Linked DNA regions of Homo sapiens: region 2 is linked to region 1. Evidence: promoter capture Hi-C in human tissues and cell types (Jung and others, 2019). All regions are on one chromosome and are shown on one strand. Each heading gives the region's core, a stretch centred on a gene start or on the middle of the fragment in contact. The rest is flanking DNA. Distances are from core to core; before and after follow the strand shown. Region 1 holds the start of MPP3 (MAGUK p55 scaffold protein 3). Region 2 has its middle 41 kb from the start of ETV4.

Region 1 (3,279 bases), core at 141-2,640:
AAACAGCACTTCAGTCCTGCCGTGAGGACATTCTCTCCCCAGGCTCTCACTGCCAGGGCCTGGAGGCTGCCAGGCAGGCTCTTGTCTTCAGGACTGTGGCAGGTCCAGCCGGGGGGAGGTACTTACCAGAGTCCTCCGATAGCACTGGCATGCTGGCGTTGTCACCTCCCGACCTCTCCCTGCAGATTCTGGGAGAAGGGGGTGGAGGTGGGTATTGAAGCTCCATCAAGCATATTTATTGAACAAACTGACTACACATCTACTGTGTTCTCTGAGACCAGGCTGTGGACAGAGAGGATGGGAACAAATAACTCTGCTTACTTTTTTCAGAGAGGAAGGAAATAAAGCTAAGATGTGCTGAGTGTCCTCGATGTGCCAAGCATTGTGTGGGGTGATTTCTATGATAAACTTTTTGTCTGCACAAAGTCCTGAGAAATGACTGCGAATGTTCCCATTTTATTGATGAAGAAACAGCGGCGTGGAAGCTTTCAGTAAGCTGTGGGTCAAAATCCATATTCAAGCAGGCTCTTCCAGGCTGGCCTTGGAGGTGCCAAGTGACCCTGCCTGACAGTGTCAGCTGTCCTCCGCAGCGCGCCCCCTCCACTGCAACCTTCTAAGAGCCCTGGCTCAAGTCTCCTGCTGGGACACACCTTCCACAACTACCTGGCTGGGCCTACAAGCCCCCTGTCCCCGACCCCCCAAGACCCAACCCAAAGGGAGCCTCCAGACTGGAGTGCAGAGAGGAGGGGGGGAAATGGGAGTCGGGCTTCCACTATGCAGGAGGGGGGACCCCTATCTCATGAGGCCCTCCAAAGGTGCTCTGCAGCACGTGGACCTCAAAAAGTCCTCCTTAGGAAGAGGAGAAGGAGAGTCATGACTGATTCATTCCGCAAACATGGAGCCAGCCCGCAGCGCCGAGCCCCGGTGCCACTAAGAGGCGTAAGAGCGGCCCCGGGCCCTCCAGCCTCCGCCCCGCCCCGCCCCGCCACGCCACGCCGGACTCACCCTCGGGCTGCTCCCCGCAGGAGGCCGAGCACCGACTCCCGCTCGCTCTCCGAAGGAACCTGTGGGAGAACAAGGAGCGCACTGGGCGCAGGAGCAGCGACCCCGGGGGACCTCGGAGGGCGGTCCCGGAGGACGCGGAGCAGCAGGGAGCGGGGGGCGCGCGGCGGGGCGGGCGCGGGAAGAGGGAGGCGGGGGCCGAGGGGCGGGGTTGAGACTCCCGCGGTGGGCTCGGTGGGCCGCGAGGCTGTCCGGGAGCACGGGAGGAGGGTCTCGGCCCGGCCTCCCGCCCCTCCCGCCGCGGCGCCCAGCTCCCTCGTCCGTTCCCCTCGCGGCCTCCTACCTCGTCGCGCCGGGATGTGTGCTCCGCGAACGGGAGCCGCGCGAGTGCCCAGAGCCTGGGCCGCCGCTGGCTCCGCCTTCCCGGACCCCTCCCTGCGGCTGCCGCGCCGGGCGGGGGTGGCGGAGCCTGAGGAGGCGCGGCGCGGGGAGGAGGCGCGGCGCGGGGAGGAGGCGGGGGAGGAGCGGAGGCCGCCCTCCGCGTCTGGCACCGCCGCACCCTCCGGGCCGGGCTCCGCTAGCCGGCGTCGTACCCGCTCCCGCTCTCCCGCTCCCTGAGTCCCCTGCCTGTGTCCCCCCGCACCCTGGCACACAGCCAGACTTCCCTTCCGCCCGCGCAACCCACCCTCCGCGAGTGGAGGGGTGGACACCTGCTCAACAGAGAATTCGATTTTGCAAACATTTATTGAGCGCCCTCCAGGTGCCAGGCGCTGTGCCAGGGGCCGGGGCTTCAAAGACGACCAAGGCACAGATCCTGGGTTTGAAGATCTCCAGAGGTGGGGCGGGGGGCCGGTCGGATGCGAGGGCAACTCGCTGTAACAATGCAACGCGCTGGGAAAGATTTATCGGTGCACGCTGCCCTGGGGACGCGGAGCAGGGGAGGAGAAGTCAGGCTGGAGAGGAGGGGGACTCCATTCTGCCCGGCTGCAGGGGAGTGAGGCTACATAGCAGAGGCGAGCAGCATCCAGGGGCTTTACTGGAAAAAGAGCTCTGAAATGGCCATGACGATAACTGACTTATATTGTGCTGTCTCCATGCCCAGGTACTCCTCAGATCACTTCCCTTCACAGTAGTTCCTGATATCAAGACCATTCTTATTTTGGTTCTGCAATTGAGGAAACTGAGGTTCCTGGTGAAAGAATGTGTATAGGGGAGAGCATAGGAACTGCTGGGTGAGTGAGCAGGTGGTTGTGGGTATTAAAAGGTGAGGAGTGGGTGAGTGAGTGGGCCCCCTTCCCTCAATCCCAGCAGCAAAGAACGGCACAGCACATGTCAGGAGAGGTGGACCCAGAGGTTAAGTCTGGAAGTAAATCTAGCCCTGCACAGTAACCAGGGAAAATGGGTTGGCAGGCCCCACAGGCTGTAGTGCATGGGGAGGCTGTGAGAGGCAGCAAATGTCATGATGATGTTTCCCCTCATTCCTCAAAAATTATCCTCATTCCTCAAGAAATATCTACACTATTGCTCCTCAAAATGTAACGTGCCTGAGACTCACTAGGGGGTTGTGTAATGCTGGAGTGGTGCCAGATTCTGAATTTCTGACAAGCTCCCAGGTGATGTGACGCCACTGGTCTGCAGACCACACTTTTTGAGTGGAGAGAGACTGCATGAGACACATTCTTAGCTGCAATGTTTACTGTTGGAAAAATAATGAGAACCATCTGATCCATCTGATATGGGTCAAATGATTTTGGACAAGAACACCAGGAAGTGGTGTTGGAACAAGTAGATATTTATGTGCCTGAAGGGACCCAATCCCTACCTCACACCATATTCAAAACGCAATTTAAGAGAGATCATTGGCCTAAACATAAAGCAAATCGATAAAGCTACTAGAATAAAACAGGAGGGTATCTTTTAAATCTTGGGGTATGCAAAGATTTCCTAGAAAGGATACAAAAAAGCCAGGCATGGTGGCATGAGCCTGTATCCCACATACTCAGGAGGCTGAGGCAGGCAAATTGCTTGAGCCCAAGAGTTCAAGGCTGCAGTGAACTATGATCAGTCCACTGCGCTTCAGCTTGGGTGACAAAGAGACACCGTTTCTAAAAAAAGAAAAAATTTTTAAAAAAAGCATGGACCCTGAAAACAATTGATAAATGGACCTCATCAAAATTTAAAACTCCTGCTCATCAAAAAACACTATTGGCCAGGTGCAGTGGCTCATGCCTGTAATCCCAGCACTTTGGGAAGCCAAGGTGGGTGGATCATCTGAGG
Region 2 (3,477 bases), core at 808-3,307, 250 kb before region 1:
TCACCCAGGTTGGAGTTCAGTGGCGCAATCTTGGCTCACTGCAAGTTCCGCCTCCTGGGTTCACGCCATTCTCCTGCCTCAACCTCCCAAGTAGCTGGGACTGCAGGTGTCCGCCACTACACCCGGCTAATTTTTTTGTATTTTTAGTAGAGACAGGGTTTCCCCATGTTAGCCAGGATGGTATCGATCTCCTGACTTCATGATCTGCCCACCTCGGCCTCCCAAAGTGCTGGGGTTACAGGCATGAGACACCGCACCTGGCTCCTGGGCCTATCTCTTCCTAGGCTGTGAATATAAACTGTGGTGAGTAGGGCTTGGGAATACATCTCACACCCTGTTTGTCAACATTTCCCCAGGACAATGCCTGGCACAATGCTCTCAGTGCTGATGCATTGGATGTGCAAAAGGTCCTGGGTTCAGGCCAATTTAGATTTCTTTGGCATGAAGAGCAGCAAATTAACATTCCTCTCTCCCTATTACAGATGAGACAGATGAGCTTAGAAATCTTAAACAACTCAGCAGGCTGGGCGCGGTGGCTCACGCCTATAATCCCAGCACTTTGGGAGGCCGAGGCGGGTGGATCACGAGGTCAGGAGATCGAGACCATCCTGGCTAACACGGTGAAACCCCATCTCTACTAAAAAATACAAAACATTAGTCGGGCGTGGTGGTGGGTACCTGTAGTCCCAGCTGCTCGGGAGGCTGAGGCAGGAGAATGGCGTGAACCTAGGAGGCGGAGCTTGCAGTGAGCCGAGATCGCACCACTGCGCTCCTGCCTAGGCGACAGAGCGAGACTCTGTCTCAAAAAAAAAAAAAAAGAAAGCTTAAATAACTCGTCCTAGGTGTATGGTGGCATCAGATAATCTAAGGGACAGGGGCATTAGGGGTTACTGACCAATGTGGAGCCCTCAGCACACATGGAATGATTGTGATCCCAAGCAGAATTAATGTGGGCACATTGTTCTCTGCAGGCTGTAGGTCTTCTCACTGGGGCTTGTATTCCAGGAAGGGGCCTTCTCTGGCTGGCCCAGATTTAGAGTGAGGGGAGTGAGGAACTCACCACAGGCCCAAAATGTAAGGGGCACCGAGTAATCAAGATAAATAAAATTTAATGCATTTTTTTTTTCTTTCAGAGACAGGGTCTTGTTCTGTGCCTCAGGCTGGAATGCAGTGGCACAGTTATGGCTCACTGCAGCCTGGAACTCCTGGGCTCAAGCAATCCTCCTGCCTCAGCCTCCTGAGTAGCTGGAACTACAGGCATGTGCCACCACGCCCAGCTAATTTATTTATTTTTTGTAGAGACAGGTTCTTGCTATGTTTCCCAGGCTGGTCTTGAACTCCCGGCCTCAAAAAATTTTCCTGCCTAGGCCAGGCATGGTGGCTCACGCCTGTAATCCCAGCACTTTGGGAGGCCGAGGCAGGCCGATCACAAGGTCAGGAGATTAAGACCATCCTGGCTAACATGGTGAAACCCCGTCTCTACTAAAAATACAAAAAATTAGCCAGGTATGGTGGCAGGCACCTGTAGTCCCAGCTACTAGGGAGGCTGAGGTAGGAGAAGGGCGTAAACCCAGGAGGTGGAGCTTGCAGTGAGCCGAGATTGCGCCATTGCACTCCAGCCTGGGCAACAGAGCGAGACTCCATCTCAAAAAAAAACTTTTCCTGACTCAACCTCCCAAAGTGCTGGGATTACAGATGTGAGCCACTGTGCCTGGCCTAATGCAATATTTTTGTTGTCAGTAAACTACAGTCTGTGAGCTGGCTGCCTGTTTTTTAAAACAAGGTTTTATTGGAACCAAGACTGAGATTAGGGTGAGGTGAATGAGACACGATATTGAGGGAAGGGTTGGATCTTGTGTTTATTTGAAATCTTAATATTTTGTTCATCATCAATTTTTACATTAATTTTGATTTTTTTTTATTTTGAGATGGAGTCTCGCACTGTTGCCCAGGCTGGAGTGCAGTGGCGCGATCTTGGCTCATTGCAAGCTCCGCCTCCTGGGTTCACGCCATTCTCCTACCTCAACCTCCCTAGTAGCTGGGACTACAGGCACCCGCCACCATGCCCGGCTAATTTTTTGTACTTTTAGTAGAGACAGGGTTTCACCGTGTTAGCCAGGATGGTCTTGATCTCCTGACCTCATGATCCACCCGCCTTGGCCTCCCAAAGTGCTGGGATTACAGGCGTGAGCCAATGCACCTGGCCAATTTTGATTTTTAAAAATTGCGTTAAAGTATTATCTATCTTGGACCGGGCACAGTGGCTCATACCTGTAATCCCAGCACTTTGGGAGGCTGAGGCAGGTGGATCACCTGAGGTCAGGAGTTGGAGACCAGCCTGGCCAACATGGTAAAATCCCGTCTCTACTAAAAATACAAAAATTAGCCAGGCATGGTGGTGATGCATGCCTGTAGTTCCAGCTACTAGGGAGGCTGAGGTGGGAGAATCGCTTGAGCCTGGGAGGCAGAGGTTGCAGTGAGCCGAGATCATGCCACTGCACTCCAGCCTGGGGAACAGAGTGAGATTCCATCTCAAAAACAACAAAAAAGTATTATTGTATTTGTCACTTTTCACGCTGCTGATAAAGACATACCTGTGACTGGGCAAATTACAAAAGAAAGAGGTTTAATAGAGAATTCACAGTTCCACGTGGCTGGGGAAGCCTCGCAATCATGGAAGAATGCAAGGAGGAGCAAGTCACATCTTACACAGATGACAGCAGGCAAAAAGAGAGAGCTTGTGCAGGCAAACTTCTGCTTTTTTTTTTTTTAAACCATCAGATCTCATGAGACTCATTCAGTATCACACGAACAGTGCAGGAAGATCTACCCCCATAATTCAATCACCTCCCACTGGGTTCCTCCCATGACACGTGGGAATGGTGGGAGTTACAATTCAAGATGAGATTTGGGTGGGGACACAGAGCCAAACCATATCAGTTATCTATCTTGATTTCTGAGTTTTGGGGCACTCCCTTAAGTTGTGTTGGAGGCAAATGCCTTAATTGTCTCTTAGGGCCTTCCCCCATTGTACCGTGGGTTCTAAGATGGGCAGCTGCCAGTAAAGACTGGGCCCTGGGGTTCAGTTCCCTTGGTTCCCTGGCTGACTGCAGCCCCAAGCAGCCTGGACAAAACAGCTGTGGGCAGATACTTCCTGTCCCTCAGGAATTGTTGCATGAGGTTTTGGTTTGGCTTCTTTAGGAAATTAGGTCTCCCTTCATCCACTGGTGTTTCTTTGTTGAACAGCTGTCATCAGCCAGCCACCAAACGTGACAGAATTGGGTTTCTCACACTGTTGCCCAGGCTGGGGTGCAGTGGTGCAAACATGGCTTACTGCACCCTCAATCTCCCAGGCTCAAGTGATCCTCTCATCTCAGCCCCACCAAGTAGTTAGGATTACAGGTGTGCACCACCACACCTGGCTAATTTTTGTACTTTTTGTAGAGAAGGGGTTTCACCATGTTGCCCAGGCTGGCC

Evidence for each region. Contacts are between HindIII fragments. The study calls those that stand out against the background at their distance.
Region 2: a fragment that was not itself captured here is called in contact with the fragment with the promoter of MPP3 in region 1 in 1 of the 25 tissues and cell types used here (dorsolateral prefrontal cortex).

Annotation. Positions count from the first base shown.
Region 1 is chr17:43,831,756-43,835,034 of GRCh38, forward strand. It overlaps MPP3 (MAGUK p55 scaffold protein 3), which reads right to left and starts at 1,391. Exons shown (of 20, transcript NM_001932.6): 1 at 1,346-1,391; 2 at 1,006-1,064; 3 at 127-188. The coding sequence starts at 151. It overlaps LOC107984979 (a long non-coding RNA gene), which reads left to right and starts at 1,950. Exons shown (of 3, transcript XR_001753057.2): 1 at 1,950-2,234. RefSeq lists silencers at 1,351-1,400, 1,421-1,520. The HindIII fragment of the contact is 8,852 bases long and covers 20-3,279 here.
Region 2 is chr17:43,585,158-43,588,634 of GRCh38, forward strand. No RefSeq gene overlaps it. Among named protein-coding and RNA genes, the nearest start is that of ETV4, 41 kb to the left of the region's middle. The HindIII fragment of the contact is 8,760 bases long and covers 1-3,477 here.